Regions from separate parts of the Homo sapiens genome. Here all the other regions are linked to region 2. The links are contacts of gene promoters, found by promoter capture Hi-C in blood cells and fetal thymus (Javierre and others, 2016). All regions are on one chromosome and are shown on one strand. Each heading gives the region's core, a stretch centred on a gene start or on the middle of the fragment in contact. The rest is flanking DNA. Distances are from core to core; before and after follow the strand shown. Region 1 overlaps PNP (purine nucleoside phosphorylase). Region 2 holds the start of RNASE6 (ribonuclease A family member 6). Region 3 overlaps KLHL33 (kelch like family member 33). Region 4 holds the start of OSGEP (O-sialoglycoprotein endopeptidase). Region 5 overlaps PARP2 (poly(ADP-ribose) polymerase 2). Region 6 overlaps CCNB1IP1 (cyclin B1 interacting protein 1). Region 7 overlaps TEP1 (telomerase associated protein 1).

Evidence for each region. The method cuts DNA at HindIII sites, captures the fragments that hold promoters and counts their contacts. A CHiCAGO score of 5 or more calls a contact.
Region 1: a contact is called between a fragment that was not itself captured here and the fragment with the promoter of RNASE6 in region 2, in 1 of 17 cell types (M0 macrophages). The highest score is 5.1, in M0 macrophages.
Region 3: a fragment that was not itself captured here is called in contact with the fragment with the promoter of RNASE6 in region 2 in 1 of 17 cell types (naive B cells); the score reaches 6.5 in naive B cells.
Region 4: a contact is called between the fragment with the promoter of OSGEP here and the fragment with the promoter of RNASE6 in region 2, in 6 of 17 cell types (naive B cells, total B cells, M2 macrophages and 3 more). The highest score is 8.8, in naive B cells.
Region 5: a contact is called between a fragment that was not itself captured here and the fragment with the promoter of RNASE6 in region 2, in 1 of 17 cell types (M2 macrophages). The highest score is 6.3, in M2 macrophages.
Region 6: a fragment that was not itself captured here is called in contact with the fragment with the promoter of RNASE6 in region 2 in 2 of 17 cell types (total B cells and erythroblasts); the score reaches 6.8 in total B cells.
Region 7: a fragment that was not itself captured here is called in contact with the fragment with the promoter of RNASE6 in region 2 in 3 of 17 cell types (naive B cells, total B cells and M0 macrophages); the score reaches 7.6 in naive B cells.

The regions. Positions count from the first base shown.
Region 1 is chr14:20,469,756-20,472,255 of GRCh38, reverse strand. The region is part of intron 1 of PNP (purine nucleoside phosphorylase); the gene reads right to left. Among named protein-coding and RNA genes, the nearest start is that of PNP, 1.6 kb to the right of the region's middle. RefSeq lists enhancers at 2,159-2,288, 2,319-2,388. The HindIII fragment of the contact is 967 bases long and covers 767-1,733 here.
Region 2 is chr14:20,779,741-20,782,757 of GRCh38, reverse strand. RNASE6 (ribonuclease A family member 6) reads right to left here and starts at 1,490. Exons shown (of 2, transcript NM_005615.5): 1 at 1,420-1,490; 2 at 291-1,063. The coding sequence starts at 1,058. The coding sequence ends at 606. The region is part of intron 1 of LOC107984671 (a long non-coding RNA gene); the gene reads left to right. RefSeq lists an enhancer at 346-415. The HindIII fragment of the contact is 1,450 bases long and covers 344-1,793 here.
Region 3 is chr14:20,427,594-20,430,716 of GRCh38, reverse strand. It overlaps KLHL33 (kelch like family member 33), which reads left to right. Exons shown (of 5, transcript NM_001365790.2): 3 at 1-922; 4 at 1,048-1,215; 5 at 1,316-3,123. The coding sequence ends at 1,868. Among named protein-coding and RNA genes, the nearest start is that of KLHL33, 7.0 kb to the left of the region's middle. RefSeq lists an enhancer at 1,091-1,723. The HindIII fragment of the contact is 607 bases long and covers 1,570-2,176 here.
Region 4 is chr14:20,453,294-20,456,074 of GRCh38, reverse strand. It overlaps OSGEP (O-sialoglycoprotein endopeptidase), which reads left to right and starts at 1,263. Exons shown (of 11, transcript NM_017807.4): 1 at 1,263-1,506. The coding sequence starts at 1,392. APEX1 (apurinic/apyrimidinic endodeoxyribonuclease 1) reads right to left here and starts at 849. Exons shown (of 5, transcript NM_001641.4): 1 at 681-849; 2 at 372-497; 3 at 1-161. The coding sequence starts at 429. RefSeq lists enhancers at 586-805, 1,226-1,315, cis regulatory regions at 867-872, 888-893, 906-938, 949-954, 951-992 and 2 more, promoters at 740-1,074, 739-1,276, 906-1,350 and a silencer at 2,613-2,781. The HindIII fragment of the contact is 3,687 bases long and covers 744-2,781 here.
Region 5 is chr14:20,353,843-20,356,557 of GRCh38, reverse strand. It overlaps PARP2 (poly(ADP-ribose) polymerase 2), which reads right to left. Exons shown (of 16, transcript NM_001042618.2): 8 at 2,311-2,473; 9 at 1,611-1,749; 10 at 743-806; 11 at 527-661; 12 at 124-251. Among named protein-coding and RNA genes, the nearest start is that of PARP2, 12 kb to the right of the region's middle. The HindIII fragment of the contact is 1,841 bases long and covers 387-2,227 here.
Region 6 is chr14:20,316,851-20,319,692 of GRCh38, reverse strand. The region is part of intron 4 of CCNB1IP1 (cyclin B1 interacting protein 1); the gene reads left to right. Among named protein-coding and RNA genes, the nearest start is that of SNORA79B, 5.1 kb to the left of the region's middle. The HindIII fragment of the contact is 1,178 bases long and covers 930-2,107 here.
Region 7 is chr14:20,410,119-20,412,918 of GRCh38, reverse strand. The region is part of intron 1 of TEP1 (telomerase associated protein 1); the gene reads left to right. Among named protein-coding and RNA genes, the nearest start is that of TEP1, 2.0 kb to the left of the region's middle. RefSeq lists enhancers at 385-554, 1-580. The HindIII fragment of the contact is 788 bases long and covers 857-1,644 here.

The DNA of each region.
Region 1 (2,500 bases), core at 1-2,500, 310 kb after region 2:
CAGACAAATGACCTTCGGTGCAAAAAGGCTGGCAGGTATACTGAGGCAGCAGGGACGGAGAAGCTGGCACAGAGGGAAAGGCCATACTATGCTCTTCCATCTACTCAGCCACCCTTCTTTCTGAATCAAGCCCACTACAAGTCTGATATGAAACTACCTCCATTCTAGAGCCTGGCAAAAGTTAATAAAGCCTGTTTCTACTAACAGGCCCAACTCCAGTGTTGGATCCACTGAACACTGGCAAGCTGCATACTTATCCTTATGACAAAGGTTTAGAGAGGAAGGGGCCAGAGTGTACGGGGAAGTGCAAGGAAATAATCAAATTAGGGAGGGTAAAAGGGCTTGGCCAGGAGGGAGCCCAAGAAGAGTACTCAAAATGGGATTAAGCCCTTCCTGAGGGTGGTGCCCACCTAGTAAAATCCCCCTTATTACCTTACCTGTTCCCCAAAGACATTCAAAATGTAATTAAGACCAACTACTATGAAGGCAGAGATAAACTCAAATTTCCTTTTGAACCCTCATTCCTCCAGTTCCTTCCTCAGCCAAAGACTTAAGGGCTACATTTCTTTTTTGTTTTAACCAATAAAACACAATGGGACCACCCCTGGTAGAGGTCTACGTGCCATTCTTAGCTCCCTGGATCACAAGGGGGTTAATTCCAGACAAAAAACTAGATAAACTGCTGTACAAAAAAGCAGACCCAGTCCACAGTACTGGTTGTCAAAGGTTAAACCAGGACTGACTACACAAATTCTCAGCAGAAGCTTGTTAGAAAAACAGATTCTGGCACTCCAGCCTGGTGACAGAGTGAGACCCTATAAAAAACACACACACACACACACACAAAACCCCCACAAAAAACAGATTCTGAAGCCCATGTAATTTTGATTTTAAAACCAGGTTTAGGGGCTGGGCGCGGTGGCTCATGCCTGTAACCCCAGCACTTTGGGAGGCCGAGGTGGGCGGATCACGAGGTCAGGAGATCGAGACCATCCTGGCTAACATGTTGAAACCCCGTCTCTACTAAAAATACAAAAAAAAAAAAAAAAAAAAAAAAATTAGCCGGGCGTGGTGGCGGGCCCCTGTAGTCCTAGCTACACGGGAGGCTGAGGCAGTAGAATGGTGTGAACCCGGGAGGCAGAGGTTGCAGTGAGCCAAGATCGCTCCACTGAACTCCAGCCTGGGAGACAGAGCGAGACTCCGACTCCAAAATAAATAAATAAAAATAAAATAAAATAAAACCAGGTTTAGGAATTGCTGGTCTGGAGGGAAGCAGAATTCGACCTAGATTCTAGTCCCAATATTGTCTTTTTAGGCATGTAATTTGTGCTTTAAATTATTTTCTCAGGTATAAACAAGGGATGTAAATTGGCCCCATCTATCTTATAGGCTCAATCTGAAAATGAATTGAATACTTGCTAACAACTTCCAAAGACCTATGGCTCTGTTACACAAAGTATTTGAATCTTTCTCCTGCTTTCCACCTGCCTGTGGTCTTCTTCCTGTCCTTCCCCCTCCCTGCCTCCTCCCAGTTTCCTTTCTCTCCACCGAGGATCTTTGCTCTTCAGAAACCTCAGGGCACTTACCCAGAACCCCTACACTAGCAAGAATCAACCCGTGTTACTTTTCTCCCAGTTCCAAGTCCAGTTCTCTCACATCCATCTGGGAAGACCAAACGTTGCTTTCAGAGGTGGCAATGAGGTGTGACAGAGCTGAACACAACTAACCAAGCTTTCACAGGAAATTTTTTACTTGGAAAGCAGAGCCCGGGAAACCAGACATGATTGCACAATACACCAGGCTACCCTCAGGGAAGCAGTTGGATCAGGTAGGTTGGGGGCTGGTCAACGGAGCCACAGGACAATGGAGAGAAGCAATTAAGCTGGTAAAATGTTAATCAAATGGCATCCCCAAAAGGTGCAAAGGAAATGAATGTGTGAAGCTGCCGCCACATGGCATGTCTAGCCACATCTCACAGCACTTCCTCATTGGCTATCAGTCCCCTCAAGAACACCCTGGCTCCCTGGGCATCCAAAAGCAACTGTGATGCCTAATGCAGGTCACTTGGACTGGGATATCCAGGACCCAAGCCGAGAGAAGAGTTTTCAAAGGCGTGGGGTGGGGGAAGTGAGCACAGGACTGTTGCTCAGTTCGGTGACTGATTTCCGTCTCCACTTAGCAGTCACTTCCCACCGAGTTAATCATACTGCCAGTCTGGAAGGAAGGGAGGAGTGCAACTGGCAAAGGAGGTGAGTAATCTTGCCTCTAAAGGAGGAACTCCGAATTTGAGCACCAAAAGTACCTCGCAGCTTTACCCAGACCCTAGCATGGGAATTTATGAAGAGCGCAGGGGGTGAGGAGACCTCCTCCTGGTATGGAGTGAGGGATATATACATATACTCACTCTCCACTTGTTCCCCTAACACACACACGGAGACACACAACGGCTGCTTTTACGGAGTAGCTTAGACCGCACCGACCTGTCCCCTTCCTGCTCCGG
Region 2 (3,017 bases), core at 241-2,740:
GATCCTTCAGTTGCCAGTGACAGAATCTATGTGTGAGTTATCATCAACTGTCTTTGAGGTATCAGTACTACCTCCAATTAAGCATAGACAATGGTTTCCAGGGGAATATATAAAGTCATGAGCAGAGTTTGAAGAAATGCTCCAAAGTCCCAAACGCTGTCCTTTCTTGTGGGCAAGGAAGTGGGGCCCCAGGGAGGCCTCAAAAGTTTTCTAGGGACTTAAAGTCAAAACAGTGTTCCTCTGAGTACCGGTCAACAATGCTTTGAAAGCGGATCTCAAACACACACTCATTAGAATGCAGCAGGAAGTGGTTTTATTGCTGTGAACACAGGGCAATAAAGCTTGGCAAAAGTTGCAGGGTTAGAAATCTGAATCTTTCTTTGCTGTCTTCCCTATTCCCTTCTCTCGAAAAGTACAGAACTACAAAGCAGAAAATAATCTTATTTCTTTTTGTCTCAACTCTGGTCTGGCATCCTAGGCACTCGAATTCTCCAAACACCTTTCTTCTTTCTTCTACGGGAACAAGAAAATCAACAAAAGAAAAGAAAACATGGATGCAATTGTAACAGAAGCTATGTCAAATGAAAGGAAATGCAGTGGATGCCTTAGAGAATACTATCTAAGTGTACAGGAACCAACTTGTAGGGGGGATCGCTCTTCTGAGGGGGGTCACAGGCAACAATGAAGAATTTGTACTGGGCAGCAGCACTATAGCGGCACTGGGGATACTTTCCTGAAGTGAGTCTGCAGTCAGTCATGTTGACAGGCTTTGAGCTCTGGTGGCAGTTGTGCCGACGATTTTTGCAGACAATGCTGAGCAAATCACAGACAGCAGCCACATTCTGGAAAGAGTCATGCAGAAAGGTATTTTGATGCTTACAGTGCTGGGTATAATTGTTGATGCCACTCATTGCCCTGTTGCATTGGAGAGGACTTGGCTGTATATGCTGAATTTCAAACCAGTGAGCCTTGGTGAGACGCTTAGGCCAAGCATGAAGTGGACACACTGGTCCCCATAGAACCAGCAGCAGTAAAAGAAGAGGAAAGCATAGCACCATCTTTTCTGTGTAGAAAGAGAGAAGATAGTTATAGTAGGAGAAGCAATAAGAGCAAAATTTTTAATCATAACTATTTAGATTTTTATTTTGCCTTTTAAGATTTTACAGCTCCCTTTAAAATCTTCTTTCTCACATAGTCTCACAATTCTATGAAGAACCTGAAGCCCAGGAAACAGAAATATGACCTCTCCTTTGATTGGCATATCCCATTTTCTTTCACAAGTACTCATGCATTTGATGGCTGTCATATCAGAAAGTTTCTTCCCTCTTCCCTCCTGAAATATTTACCCTCTATCTGACCACTACCTCCCAGCCGTCTTTACTGCTCTACTCGCTCCAGCCCTGAGGCTTTCTTTCTTACCTGGTCTCAGTGTTGGGGCTCCTGCTGAGAACAGAGGCTGTGATTAGTCCAAAGCTCAGAAGCTGTTGTCTGCCTTTCTTCTCTAACCCTTCGAGCCCTGTGTGTATAGGGAAGGGGAAGAAATATTCTGAGCTTTCAGAAGGAGAATCCTAGGGTTTGGCAGATTAACTTCTTGTGCAGAGTCTGGATTAAACTCTTAGACTTTCACACCTGTTCTTTAAAACAGTATCATTATCACATGTATACAGGAAGGCTAAACCAACTTAAAGAAACAACATGACTGAAAACTCACAGTTTTGAGGAACTGATCACTTCCTGATATGGAATGAGTGCTTCCTGCCTCATCTGAGGCTTCAGTGTTTTTTTTTGAAGCTTTATGATTCCTGTTTCTTAAGAGAAAATATGTCACATAAATATGATATAATGCCTGCCACATACTTGGTAATGTTGTAAGTTCCTACAACAGAAGTGAATACATTATTCATTTATGCATATACTTATTGGGCCAGGTACTAGGCTACACAAATTCAGGAGCTCATGAGTTTTTTTTTTTTTTTTTTTTGAGACGGAGTCTTGCTCTGTCGCCCAGGCTGGAGTGCAGTGGTGCGATCTTTGCTCACTGCAAGCTCCACCTCCTGGGTTCATGCCATTCTCCTGCCTCAGCCTCCCGAGTAGCTGGGACTACAGGTGCCTGCCATCACGCCCAGCTAATTTTTTTGTATTTTTAGTAGAGACGGGGTTTCACTGTGTTAGCCAGGATGGTCTCTATCTCCTGACCTCGTGATCTGCCAGGAGCTCATGATTTAATGAAAGAGATTAGAGACAGGCAGGTAAGTATATAGACAAGTAGATTATATTAATATAAATAGCACTTACAGTGTGATGGAGGACACTGCAGGAGGCTACGGGAAGATAGTAGAGGGGAAGGATTGTTGGAGGGCACAACACCTGAACTGAATTTTGAGGAATAATTAGAAGTTAGGTGAAGAGAGTGTTAAGCGCCTCCCAAAGACAGAATTGTGTATGAAAAGACCTGTAAGCCTGAAGAAGAAGGCCGAATTTAGGATATTTGCCTCTTGAATCTGTTCTTACCTTTTCACTGGTACTGCAACACCCTTATTCAGAAACTCATTGTCTTATGGAGGGCTCACATAAAAGCCTCCCACATGGACTCCTTGCCTTGTTTTTTTCTCCTTCCAATCCATTCTACATATTACTTCCAGATTAGTCTTTTTTTGAACAAGATATAATAGTACAACACTCTTGCCCCATGCTTTTATGGCTCCAAATGTCTGCAGAATAAACATAATGTCTGTTTATAGCAAGGTTGCAGGATACAAGGTTAATATACAAAAGTCAGTTGCTTTCTTATATACCAGCAATGAACAATTGCAATTTGATATTTAAAACACAATACCATTTATATTGCACCAAAGAAAGTGAAATACTTAGGTGTAAATCTAATACATTATGTAAAAATTGGTATGAGGAAAAATTTAAAACTCTAATGAAAGAAATTGAGGAAGCACAGATATTCCATGTACATGAGTAGGAATACTCAATATGTTAAGATGTCATTTCCTCTCAACTTGATCTAT
Region 3 (3,123 bases), core at 624-3,123, 350 kb after region 2:
ACCGAGCCGCCCTGGCCTGTGGCAGTGAGTTCTTTGGGGCCATGCTCCTGAGCGGGATGAGGGAATCCCAGGGCACAGAGGTATCTCTGCGGACGATCTCCACCCAGGACCTGCGACTCCTCGTCTCTTTTGCTTACTCCGGAGTTGTGCGGGCAAGGTGGCCAGGGCTACTGAGAGCTGCCCAGGCTGCTCTGCAGTACCAGAGCTCTTCCTGCTTGGATTTGTGTCAGAAAGGCTTGGCACGGGGCCTCAGCCCTGCCCGTTGCCTGGCCCTGTTCCCCATGGCGGAAGCCCCTGGGTTGGAGAGGCTCTGGAGCAAAGCCCGTCACTACCTCCTCACCCACCTGCCTGCTGTAGCCTTGTGTCCTGCTTTCCCTTCTTTACCAGCTGCCTGCTTGGCTGAGCTCCTGGATAGTGATGAGCTCCATGTGCAGGAGGAGTTTGAGGCCTTTGTGGCTGCACGGTGTTGGCTGGCTGCCAACCCCGAGACCCAGGAGTCAGAGGCCAAGGCCCTGCTGCGATGTGTCCGCTTTGGCCGCATGTCCACCAGGGAGTTGCGGAGGGTGCGGGCAGCCGGGCTACTTCCACCCCTGACCCCAGATCTGTTGCACCAGCTGATGGTAGAGGCTGATGTTCCAGGCCAAGAGAGACGGAGGGAGCCTGACCGGGCACTGGTAGTGATTGGCGGGGATGGGCTCAGACCAGACATGGCCCTAAGACAACCATCCCGAGCAGTGTGGTGGGCCCGGGCCTTCCGCTGTGGCGTGGGACTGGTACGAACTGTTGAGTGGGGGCAGCTGCCTGCCCTGCCTGCCCCCGGACGCTTCCGGCATGGGGCTGCAAGCCTGGCAGGAAGTGAACTCTATGTGTGTGGGGGACAAGATTTCTACAGTCACTCCAACACCCTGGCTTCAACTCTCAGGTATAAGCTTCTAGGAGTGGGCAGGGTGTGGCAGGCCCTAAGGTGGGCAGGGAGAGAAATTGCTGGCCTAGCCAACCACGGATGCCCAGAGTCCCTCTTCCAATCTCTTGTCCTACTGTGTCCAGGTGGGAGCCCAGTCAAGAGGACTGGGAGGAGATGGCTCCTTTGTCCCAGGCTCGAAGCCTTTTCTCCTTGGTGGCACTGGATGGAAAACTTTATGCCCTGGGTGGAAGACACAATGATGTTGCCCTGGACTCTGTGGAGACCTACAACCCTGAGCTCAATGTCTGGAGGTAAGCAGGCAAGGGGGCATCTGGGAGAGATTAGGAGACTTGGAATAGAAGGAGAGTTGAAGATGCTAGTTGCCTTATCTTGTGTCCTGTTCTCCCTTAGGCCAGCACCTGCACTTCCAGCACCATGTTTTGCCCACGCAGCTGCGATTTTGGAGGGCCAGTTGTACGTGAGCGGTGGCTGTGGTGGGACTGGCCAATACCTGGCCTCACTGATGCACTATGACCCCAAACTTGAGAAGCCAGGGACGTTTCTGAGCCCTATGGGGGTACCTCGGGCTGGCCATGTCATGGCTGCATTGGGTGGGAGGTTGTATGTGGCAGGTGGGCTGGGTGAGACTGAGGACCTGCTAAGCTTTGAGGCCTATGAACTAAGGACTGATAGCTGGACTCACCTGGCACCCCTACCCTCCCCCCATGTGGGGGCTGCAAGTGCTGTGCTGCAGGGGGAGCTACTGGTGCTCGGGGGCTACAGTCACCGTACTTATGCCCTCTCTCACCTTATCCATGCCTACTGTCCTGGCCTGGGCCGATGGCTCTGCCTGGGAACTCTGCCAAGGCCTCGGGCTGAGATGCCTGCCTGCATCCTGACACTGCCCGCTGTGCAGCACATAGCTTTGGTTCCCACCCCACACCAAACCAAACCTGCTGGGTGAAGAGGGAGCAACAGTGTATGGGGAGAGGAGGGCATAAGAAATAGCCTGAGAGAAGGACAGAGATTGTGGGGAGTGAAAAGAGGCTTTATTCTTGGTAGTATTTTATTCTCACACTGTGCATTGTAAACTGCTTTTGTACGTATGATCTCCGTTGAGGAAATGGTGGTTCCAGAACTCCTAGGGAAAACATATAGGGAAAGGGGAGGCAGCTGAATACCCAGGTGAGGAAAGGAGACTCGGGAGCAACTCCACAAGGCTTAGGGATTCTTAGGGAAAGGGCATCTAGTTTGAAAGAGAGTTAAGAAGCTTCAGTAGCCAAAGTGTAGAGACCATGGGAGGACAGTTGGAAAAATGGTTCTGACCCATGGATCATGGGAAAAATGTGGAATGGCCATCCATGAAAGAGTTTGAGGAGTGTAGGAGTAAGGACTGTAAATCGTTCAGCCCTTTTTTTCCTGGAACTTGCTCCTTTCTCCTCTCCCACCCCTGGGATGCCTAAACCTTCTTAACAATATTCTCTCCCGGGTAACTTTGTAGGCCTGGTCTAGCGTTTCCCAGCGAGACACCACAGGCTGCCCCTGAGAACCTCTTGGTTTCCTTCTGAGGCAGAAGCTCCCACATGGACATGCACGGCACAGGGGCCTGAGAGGCCTGACGGGCCCCCCAGGGCCATGTGGCAGGAGTGTTGTGTGGGAAAGATGATGGGGGCAGAGGCCAAGGAGGGAGAGGCCCACAGTGGAAAAACAGATGATCTGAGGTTTAAGGAGATGGGGTGGAAGAAGTCAGAAGCCTGTGTGCCTTCTTTCTTTTGGGCAAACTGAGGAATCAGGAGTGAAAATGAGACCGTTGTTGCCTGAGGTCTCAAGTGGTGAGAGGATGTGGGGGGAGAGAAGAGTGAGAAGCAGACAAGACTCAGAAAAGTCATTTCCCCCTTTCAGTTCCTTTCCCCCAGAGTTATTTTTAAATCCATTTCCCTTTATCTTGGCCAGGGAAGGTAGTCAGGTGCTTCCTCTTTCTCTCTTCCCCCATCCTGCTCTCCCCACTGCCTCTCTTTTTTCTTTCTCTTCTTTCTCCCTCACACAGTTATTAATTACCTACTGTGTGGCAGGCACTGTAGGAGGCACCAAGATACAGAGGTCAGAGAGCTCCTGACCAGCAGATAGACATAAACAAATACAAATTTTGAGTGGACTTACATGTATGGACGAGTCTTGCGAGAGCCCAGAGGATAGAGCAGTGAACTCTGCTCAGGAAG
Region 4 (2,781 bases), core at 14-2,513, 330 kb after region 2:
TCGAAGCCCATCCACATTCCAAGAGCAGATCTTGAGTGTGGCAGGTTTGCCACTGGGTGAGGTTTTCTGATCTGGGGGGTCCTCATACAGGGCTGGGCCCTCTCCTGCTGCCTCTTTGTCATTTTTCTTTGCGGCCGTCTTACTCTTCTTGGCCTCTGGCTCTATAAAATGAGTAATATATACTGACAAAAAGCTGGTGGTTTCCAACTGCGATCCGGCGTTAACTATAGACCCAACGAAAGCCTACGGTTCCTGCGACTTCTTCACAAACCCCTGCAAAAATGAGTCGGCCCGTACTTACCGTACATCAAGGGAATGACAAACACCCCCGCCGCAGCTTCTAGGAAGAAGGGCTGATTTCATTCCCTTACCTGTCCTGAGCTCATCCCCGTCTTCCGCCACCGCTCCCTTTTTCCCACGCTTCGGCATTCCCGTTACGAACGCCCTTGGGCAGCTGTACCGCGTCACCCACCGAAGCAATATTTTTACCGCGTTGCCTACAGACGCAAAGAAATCATGAAACCAGCTAAGGCTGGGGAGAAGACTCCTCCCAAGAGCGTCCCCGCACCAGGTCCCGCCTTTCAAACCACGTTATCTCTAAATCCTTTCCCCGCCTCCGTGCATCATAGGCCCTTCAGCCCCTCACCCACGAAACTAGATCATTTCATAGTGCCTTGTACCCTACTCGCGAGATCTGCCCTCCAGCCAATTGAGGATCTTAATTAAGGGTCCTGACTCAAGCTTGCCGTTCAGACTGCCAGCGAAGCCCCTCTTATGAGCAAAAGAGCAACCCCGTATCTGCACCGGCCCGATGGCAGCCTAGCTCCTCCTAACCCGAGCACAAAGAAGGGTGCACGCTGAGCCCCCACGTGGGTAGCGGACCTGGTCACGTGATCAGAGGCGCGCTTGTCGTGGCCGAAGAATGCGCGTGATTGGTCTGTCTGACACCACGTGACGGAGACGCTTAGCCTCGCCTCCCTCCTCTAATTCTCTAGGACACTTAGGTCCCCAACCCTCCCTCGGGCTGTTTATCGTTGTGCCAGATGCACAGCACATTGTGTGACACTGACTTAAGATTCTAACTATGTGCAAGAGGGAAAAAAACAGTGGAGAAGGCTGGGCTGGACCACGGGAAAGAGATAGGAAAACGGATACGAATGTAAGGCACAGAGTTGGCTCGGCGTCCCTGGCAGTTAGGAAGACAGGTCCCTGGAGGGGCCTTGGCGGGTCTCCGCTCGCGGGAGTTCCGCGGTGTCTTTCCCAGTGCTATCTGCAGGCTGGCCAGCTTCCTCTGCGCTCCGGAAAGCTGCGGCCCAGCGCGGACTAGTGAGGACCTCCACAGCTCCTGACATTGCCAGGAGTCCTGTCGGCGTTTTCTCCCAGCCTCCGCCATGCCGGCGGTGCTGGGTTTTGAAGGCAGCGCCAATAAGATTGGCGTGGGCGTGGTGCGGGATGGCAAGGTGCTGGCGAACCCGCGGCGGACTTACGTCACGCCTCCTGGCACAGGTTGGTGAGTAGGGGACTTAAGAGTTTTCCGCGCACTTCCCCGCACAGAATCAGCCTTCCATCTTCCTAAATACTAGTGAGGTGCAGCTTTCGATCCGAGTCTCATTGAAATTATGTGACATTATTAACGTCACAAGGCTGATGACTAGAAGAGTTACAGGCACTTGGACGTGGATCTGATGAGTTCATTTACCTTTTACTGAGCGCATTTTATGTGCTAAGTATTCAGAAATAGATGTTATACTGCTGTGGAGTCAGACATATAAATAGATGTTTATACTACAGCATGATAAACAGTATAATAGAGATGGACTCGAAATATTCTGTTTAAAAAACGCTTAGCAGGAGTATAGATTCCAGTTGCCCTGAATATACACTCCCTTTTTAAAAAAAAATTATTTTTTGAAATATTCTAGGATGAGTAGAGAGATGAGAGTGGAAAGACTCCCGGCTTACATGTCAGACAGAACTGGCTGGCTTTGCTATATTCATATTAAATATTTTTGTTTTGGACATTTGGTCTTTATTTTTTATTTTATTTTATTTTTTTGAGACAGAGTCTTGCTCTGTCGCCCAGGCTGGAATGCAGTGGCACGATCTCGGCTCACTGCAATCTCTGCCTTCCAGGTTCAAGCGATTCTTCTACCCCAGCCTCCCAAGTAGCTAGGACTATAGGTGTGCGCCACCACATCCAGCTAAATTTTGTATTTTTAGTAGAGTCGGGGTTTCCACCAGGCCAAGCTGGTCTCGAACTCCTGACCTCAGATGATCCGCCCACCCCAGCCTCCCAAAGTGTGGAAATTACAGGCATGAGCCACCGCTCGGGCCTGGTCTTTGTTTTTAAAATGGGAATAATACCTGTATCATTAGGTCTTGAAGATTAGATGAAAGTACCAAACACGGCTGGGCGTGGTGGCTCACGCCTGTAATCCCAGCACTTTGGGAGGCCAAGGCAGGCAGATCACCTGAGGTCGGGGTTCGAGACCAGCCTGACCAACATGGAGAAACCATGTTTCCACTAAAAAATACAAAAAATTAACTGGGCGTGGTGGCGCATGCCTGTAAACCCAGCTACTTGGGAGGCTGAGGCAGGAGAATTGCGTGAACCCGGGAGACAGAGGTTGCAGTGAGCCGAGATGGTGCCATTGCACTCCAGCCTGGGCATCAAGAGTGAAACTCTGTCTCAAAAAAAAAAAAAGTACAAAACACATTACAACTTTTAATTGATATTTTAAATAAGCTATTATATCTTGCTACTCTCCCCTCAAACACTTG
Region 5 (2,715 bases), core at 58-2,557, 430 kb after region 2:
GTTCTGCACAGATAGGCCATAAGCATAAAAAAGCCAACACCTTCCTCTGACTCCCTCTTATAAGTTCTACAGCTGTACTTTCGGGCAAGGAGTGTCTTTCCAAACGCAAAGCTAGACTCAGACCTGTTATGAAGGTCCTCTCTGAAGGCTTCTTTCTCACCATCCTTCTCCACTTCAAACAAATCCAGCAAGGTCATGGTATAGTCGCTGTGTGTGGGAGCATGGGTAGATTGTAGGTACTGGGAAATCACCTGTGAAAAATAAGACAAAAAGGCTGATGTAGACTCTACAAGAGACTGAGCTGAACTGAAGAATTTGGGGATTCTGATATAACTTGGCAGACCTTTCTGCTCCCAAACAGTCTTACAAGGCAGCTAGGAAAAGCTTGGCCTTCCCAAATCCCTAGTACATAAAAAGTCTGCCCTAATTGACAATTTGCTCTTGACAAGAAGTAGTTAGAGAACAGTGGGATGGGGGAGGTGGTTAAGGGTGCAAGAATATGAAAATAAATGATCATTTTTCTTACTTTGAACTCATAACTTTCATGGTCAAGGGGGCGCAAGGCACAATGTAGGTTTCTATAGTGTTGGTCCAATGGGTGTTCTGGGCTTTGTAGCTCTGTTTTCACCAGCTTAATAGCAATTTCAATGTCTCCCAAAGCCTGAGAAGATGAGATATAGAATCAATGTGGGAGGACACTGGTATAAGGGATATAATACTTCTCAAATCATACATATCTCACCTCTAGTAATTGTATTTTTTCTGACAGTTCCTTCTGTGTCCGGATTAGTGGAGGAGTACGGAGTCTAAGAACAGAGATATAACCCATAATGAGCTTTCTGACATGTGGCTAAAAGGCGCATGACTAAAAATAGAAAATGACAGATAGGTCCTTTAGAAAACAGGTATGAGAAACAGGTTTTCCATTTGAGAGAGAAAGAGATCTGTAAAGAGATCTTAACTTCCAAATATATAAAATAATATTAAATATATACTCGGTATAAGATGAACTATGTGGATTTTGACTTTTGAGACTAGAGTTAAAATTATTTTTTATAAAATCATTTAAAAATAAGTTATATTGATATCAACAGGGAACAGTTGGATACAGTTCTATCTAGAAGCACAGGTAGACCTGTTGACCACTCAGGGTTATTTCTAGGTCACGGGGCTCTATAAAGCTATAAAAGAAATAGAAATCGGATGTAAACCAGAAAACAGAATCAACAAATGTAAAATGTTATTTTGTCTATCTAATATCACTTGAGTTCACAGAAATGGTGTTTGTGTGGTTTTAGTTACTCAAATAGGAAAAGGGGGTGATATGCCTGAAGGTGTTTTACTTGGGTGGTTGGATAGCTAGACCCATTCTCTCTTGGGTTGGTAACTTCCACTTTGTCAGAGAATATGGCTGTGGTCAAGCCGGGAGATTGCATCCCATATTTGTAAGCTGATTAAATAGGCTACCTATATATCATTTTGTTTCTGTACCTATTCAAGACGATCATTTTCTTAGGAATAAAAGATTTAAAAGATTATAGCTGCTGCTGATGGATACAGGGGATATGTATAGGTAGAAGAACAAAGTGAAGTAACAGCACAGGCCTTACCCAAAGTCATGCGGAATCCTGGTGTAGAATTCATTGCATGCTTCCATGAGAGCTCGTCCATGCTGGCCAGCCCGAATACAATCCTCAATCTTCTTAAGAGACTGGTAACCTGCCTTGATTTGTGCCACTGTCAGCTTCCCTGCAGGCCCACCCAGAGATCAGACTCCAAACTAGGATCCCATCTAGTGAACTGTACTTAACATCCTTCCCTAAAAAAGACTTTCATCTTTCAACTTTTTTTTTTCCTGTTTTTAAGATGGGGTCTCACTCCTGTTGCCCAGGCTGAGTGCCGTGGCACAAACACAGCTAAATGCAGTTCAACCTCCTGGGCTCCGGTGATCCTCCCACTTCAGCTTCGCAAGTAGCTAGATCACAGGCACACACCACCATGCCTGGCTAATTTTTCTATTTTTAGTAGAGATGGGGTCTCACCATGTTGCCCAGGCTGGTTTCAAACTCCTGGGCTCAAGCAATCCACCTGCCTTGGCCTCCCAAAGTGTTGGGATTATAGGCATGACCCATCACACCCAGCCTCAACTTTCAAAATAGTTCCTCTTCCCTCCATACAACCTGTCACCCCAAATCCCATTTTCTTCATTCAGTACTATGAGCAAGCTTTAAATCATAATGATAATAAAGTATCCATTAAAGGAGCTAGGAATTATAAGGAGAGAATGCAGAAGAAAATGTGAAGTCCTACCAAGTGGGGCTTTCTTGGTATTATACTTCATTTCCATCATCATTTCTTCCATGGCCTGAACATTACAGATCAACTTTATTAACTCCTGTACCCGAAGATCTAGCTGTGACTCTGGCTTCAAGGGAGATTTAAGAGATTCCTCTTTCTTTGTTTCCTCTTCATCCTATAGCAAAAAACAAACAAAACACAAGACAATCTAAGAAATCATCTCTAGATTCCTTATAACACCCAATATTATACAATGTAAATGCTTTGTAAAGTTTTTATATTGCACTGTCTAGGGAATAATGAGAAGCAAGGAAAAAAAGGCTGTACAGGTTCAGTACAGAAGCAATTTTTCAAACATTTTTGATTCTCAGTTCATTGAATCCATGGATATAGAGGGTTGACCATCCAAGTTCTGCC
Region 6 (2,842 bases), core at 269-2,768, 460 kb after region 2:
TTTTAATTGTAAAAACCCGCAATCAATGTCTATTAGAAGAATGGATAAATTGTAGCATATTTGCAGTACATGTTGTTAAAATGAATTAATGTTAAGTATTTATTAACTTAGATACATCTCCAGGAAGTGATCATATTGCAGTGCAAAGGGAATTGGCTAGGATCACAAAGTTAGGTACTAGTCAAATTAGAATATTTTGCATTTTTCAACTTTAAATGAGTTGTACTATTTTTTGTATTAATATTTCTACATTTGGCATAGTTAAAACCAGAATTCACACAGAAGGCTCAAACAGCCAAAAACAGATGTTAGGGAGTATATGGTTCACACATGAAGATCTCCTTTTTTTGGAACTGGTTTATACCAAAATTAAATTACCACTTTAAAGTTATCAGAAGATATTTTAGGAAATGTACAAAGGCCTAATTACTCCGAAACAGATGACAAACCTTGTAGGAAGTTGCACAGTTTTTGACAGTTTTTTGTTTGAAGGAAAAAGATTTGATATTATGGTTTGGCACTACTCAGGGGTTTGCAGGGTTTGATGTCCACTGCGTGGCTAATTGCATCTGTTACTAATTCATAATAGGTTCACAACATCTGGAAAGATGGCTACAAAAGACGGTATAAGGCTGGGCATGGTGGCGCACGCCTGTAATCCCGGCACGTTGGGAGGCCGAGGTGGGTGGATCACTGGAGGTCAATAGTTTGAAACCAGCTTGGCCAACATGGCGAGACCCTTTGTCTACTAAAAATACAAAAATTAGCGGGGTGTGGTGGCATGTGCCTGTAATCCCAGCCACTCGGGAGGCTGAGGCAGGAGAATCGTTTGAACCCGGAAAGCGGAGGTTGCAGTGAGCCGAGATCGCGTCACAGCACTCCAGCCTGGGCGACAGAGTGAGACCCTATCTGGAAAAGAAAAAAAAGCTTCATTAAGGTTTATATCCTGAGGACCCGTCTAGCTTTCCTCTTCAGGTTAATTTTTAATCTGAATTCTAACAGATCCATATAGATTAAGCAGAAAATAATTACCTAAAGCAGCTGCTATGGGTAAGCACAGAAGGGCAAAGAAAATGACAGGCAACAGCATTAGAGTAAAACTGGCACAGTGCAATCATTTAAACACTGCTAGCAGTTCCAGGAGAGCACGCAGGTAGGTCACCTCAAAGTTCTGACCCTCAATACTATCAATTAATTAAATAATTTTTTTTTTTTTTTAAAGACGGAGGGTCGCTCTTGTTGCCGTGGCTGGAGTGCAATGGTGCGATCTCGGCTCACTGCAACCTTTGCCTCGTGGGTTCAAGTGATTCTCCTGCCTCAGCCTCCCGAGTAGCTGGGATTGCAGGCGTCCACCACCACGCCCAGCTAATTTTTGTATTTTAGTAGAGAGAGGGTTTCACCGTGTTGGCCACGCTGGTCGGGAACTCCTGACCTCAGGTGATTTGCCCGCCTCAGCCTCCCAAAGTGTTGGGATTACAGGCGTGAGCCACCGCGCCCGGCCCACTATCGCTTAATTTAAAGAGCTGTAATGCATGTTTGTAATGCAGACTCAAGGAAAATTATAATTTCCTTAAATGTGTATAGAGGATGTGTGAGAGTGGAAAGATGTCTATTCCAAGGTGGATAAAAAATAAAATGGTGGACTACCTCAACATGGAGGTGCCAGCTGTCCAATTACAGCTGTCACTCTGTTTCTGGGAATTTCTCCCGATTCTTAGCCGGAGCTGCGGCCCGCAACTCCCTCAGCCTGGCAGGTCCCAGGATGCTTCGGGGCAACCCCACGCATGCGCGCTCTGGCGTAGTTCCCTGAAGCACTCGCTCGCAGAGAATCCTGGAATCTTCGCTTGTGGAGCTGTGGAGGCAACGGAGTTTTTCCGCGCTTTTTCTTTCAGCCTCAGATTAAGTATCATTTGTTACTATTATTTTCTCTACTGAGCGTGGAAAGCTGGCTGAAAATTCCAGAGTGTAATTTCTGTGGGTCTGTTTCTCTAAAACTTGCCCCTCACGCAGCTTGTACAGAAGTTAGATTGGCGCTTACTCCCAGCTGGTGGAAGATTCGGAATTAGCTGCGCCTCTGCTGCGTGAGAGAGGGCTCAGCTTTAAAGCTTCCCAGCTCCTCTGCTTTCCCGCTGCCCCCTACTCTGCCGGATGTAAAATAGGCCTCTTAATCTTAACTGTGGCTGCCAGGTGACATACCTGAGGAAACTCACTCAGCGGGGCTATTGGGATAAAGGTGTGCGAGTGTTCTTTTCTATCGACCTGGAGGGCCAAGGCAACTTTTTTTTTTTTCCTTCTGGGACGGAGTCCGTCGCCGGCTGGAGTGCAATGGCGCGATCCCGGCTCACTGCAAGCTCCGCCTCCCGGGTTCAAACGAGTCTCCTGCCTCAGCCTCCTGAGTAGCTGGGACTACAGGCGCCCGCCACCACACCCAGCTAATTTTTTGTATTTTTAGTAGAGATGGGATTTCACCATGTTAGGCTGGTCTCGAACTCCTGACCTCGTGATCCGCCCGCCTTGGCCTCCTAAGGTGCTGGAATTATACAGGGGTGAGCCACCGCGCCCAGCCTATATATATACATGTTATGAGAGAGATTCTTGCTCTGTCCCCCAGGCTGGAGTGCAGTGATGCGATCTCACTTCACTGCAACCTCTGCCTCCCGGATTCAAGTGATTCTCCTGCCTCAGCCTCCCGAGTAGCTGGGATTAGAGGCTTGAATCACCACGCCTGGCTAATTTTTGTATTTTTAATAGAGACTGGGTTTCACCATGTTGGCCAGGCTGGTCTGGAACTCCTGACCTGAAGGGACCCCGCCTGCCTTGGCTTCCCAAAGTGCTGGGATTG
Region 7 (2,800 bases), core at 1-2,500, 370 kb after region 2:
GGGAGGCGGAGGTTGGGGATCACCTGAGGTCAGGAGTTTGAGACCAGCCTGACCAACATGGTGAAAACCCTCTCTACTGAAAATACAAAAAAATTAGCCGGGCATGGTGGTGGGCGCCTGTAATCCCAGTTACTCGGAAGGCTAAGGCAGGAGAATCGCTTGAACTCGGCAGGCAGAGATTGCAGTGAGCTGAACAACAGAGCCAGACTCCGCCTCAAAAAAAAAAAAAAAAAAAAAAGGAAAGAGTGAGGTGGGTATTAATGTGTTAACAGGGCAAGGTCTCTGAGATATACTAAGTGCAGAATAGCATCTAACTTATGATCCTGTTTGTGTAAAGCAAAAGCAAAAGCAGTGGTGATGGTGAAGGCATGTATTTGCATATGCATAGAAACTGTGAAACTGTTAGTATAAAACTGTGAGCAATGTTTACTTCCAGAGAAGGGAACTAGAGATGGAAGTGGGGACGGAACTTTAACTTTCCATTTGTGGTTCAGCCGAATCTCCTTTCAAAAACTCCAGGGTGCAAAACAATAAAATGAGCAAAATAGTGAGACTGTCCTTTTAAGGATAGGACAGTCTCACTATGTTGCTCAAATAAACTGTCCTTATTTTTCTGTTTATTTTTGGCTTGAGATCTCTTTTAAAAAAAATCTGAGTCAATTCTGAGTTTCCCCACTCCTTTCCTTGGGGGCTTATATAGGGCAACGACATGAGCAAAGTGTATTGGGCACAGAAGCCATCATTTTTTACGTGTTTGTCACACTGACGTCCAGTGAGATATTGTTGTCCTTTTTGGCCCTGGATTGTTAGTCATTCAGGTCTTCTTGGAAGTGTTCTGTACTTTTGTCCCTAAGCTTTTTCACACTAAGTTTAGGTGGTTGACTTAACAATATTATTCCCAAAATATTTACATATGAATGAGAGATTAGCCTTTGTCCAAATAAGTAAGAAAATACATTCCTTTTTTTTTTTAAATAGAGGTCTCACTATGTTGCCCAGGCTGGTCTTGAACTCCTGACCTCAAGTGATTCTCCCACCTCAGCCTCCCAAAATGCTAGGATTACAGGTGTGAGCCACCACACCCAGCCAGAAAATAGGTTCCTGATGGTATAATTCAAGCATTCTGTTAGGCAGAGGTTTCTAATTTTCAGTTTATGGAGATCCTGGGAGGTCCATAAATGGGCTTCATAGACACTCTGAAAATTGAGCACAAAACAGTATATACTTTTTTTTTTTCTGTGAAAAAGCTCCATAGCTTTTACCAGATTCTCAAAAGCCTCTGAATCCCGCTGACCAGCAATTGTGGGAACAAGGCTAAAAGGGTCTCTCTCCTCAGGAACTTAATGGTCTATTGGGAAGAAAGACAAACAGGTGATGTGCTCTATGATAGGGGACATATGGGTGTTGTGAAAACAAGGAGAAGGCCACCTAAATCAGACTGGGGCTTGGTGTCAGCACAGGCTTTTTGGAGGAGTTGATGAAACTGAAGTCTGTAGAGTGAGAGGAAAGTAGCATTTGGCCTTGTAAAGGAGGGGTGGTATTGGTAGAAGAAAGAGTGTTCCAGGGATCTGCCTGTGCACAGGCCCGTAGTCAAGAGATACCTTGGCAATTAATAAGCTAAATAAAATTTGTATGATTGAAGCTTAGAGTGCTGAGGGTTAGATCGGGGTGTTAGTGAGAGATGATGCTGGGAGGTGACCGGAAGTCGGGTTTTGTGTATGATGCTGAAGATGCAGAGGGGAGCAAGACAAAGGAGCCCTTACCTTAAGGAGTTGTATTTCAGTAAAGAGAAACAATTAGGCTGGGTGCGGTGGCTCACGCCTGTAATCCTAGCACTTTGGGAGGCTGAGGTGGGTGGATCATGAGGTCGGGAGATTGAGACCATCCTGATGAACATGGTGAAACCCTGTCTCTACTACAAATACAAAAATTAGCTGGGTGTGGTGGCAGGCACTTGTAATCCCAGCTACTTGGGGGGCTGAGGCAGGAGAATTACTTGAACCCGGGAAGTCGAGGTTGCAGTGAGCTGAGACTGTGCGACTGCACTCCAGCCAGCAATAGAGTGAGACTCCGTTTCAAAAAACAAAAAGCAAAAAAAAAAAAAAAAAAAAAAAAACCACAAAGGAGAAACAATTAGCAAGTGGGCTAATAAGCAAACATGCTTAAAAAAAAAGGAGTCCGCCAGGCACAGTGGCTCACACCTGTAATCCCAGCACTTTGGGAGGCCAAGGTGGGTGGATCACAAGGTCAGGAGTTCGAGACCAGCCTGGCCAGCATAGTGGAACCCTGTCTCTTACTAAAAATACAAAAAAAAAAAAAGAAAAAAAAATCAGCTGGGCATAGTGGCGGGCGCCTGTAATTCCAGCTACTCGGGAGGCTGAGGCAGGAGAATGGATTGAACCTGGGAGGCGGAGGTTGCAGTGAGCCAAGATCGTGCCATTGCACTCCAGCCTGGGTGACAGAGCAAGACTCTGTCTCAAAAAAAAAGGAGTCTCACTATGTAGCTCAGGCTGGTTTTAAACTCCTGGGCTCAAGTGATCCTCCTGCCTCAGCCTCTGAGAGTCACTGGGATTGCAGGCTACCACATCTGGCTCTAGCAGGGAGGTCCTTTAGACAAATCTATATACAGTATGTCACCACATGGATTAGAGGGTTTCAACAAAGGTGGTGGTAGGAGGAATGGAGAGAATTGGATAGATCTGAGAGACACTGAGGGAGTAGAATCAATAGAATTTAGTAGTTTACTGGATAATAATAACAAATAATAATAGCTTCTATATTGAACACTTAGTGCCAGGCA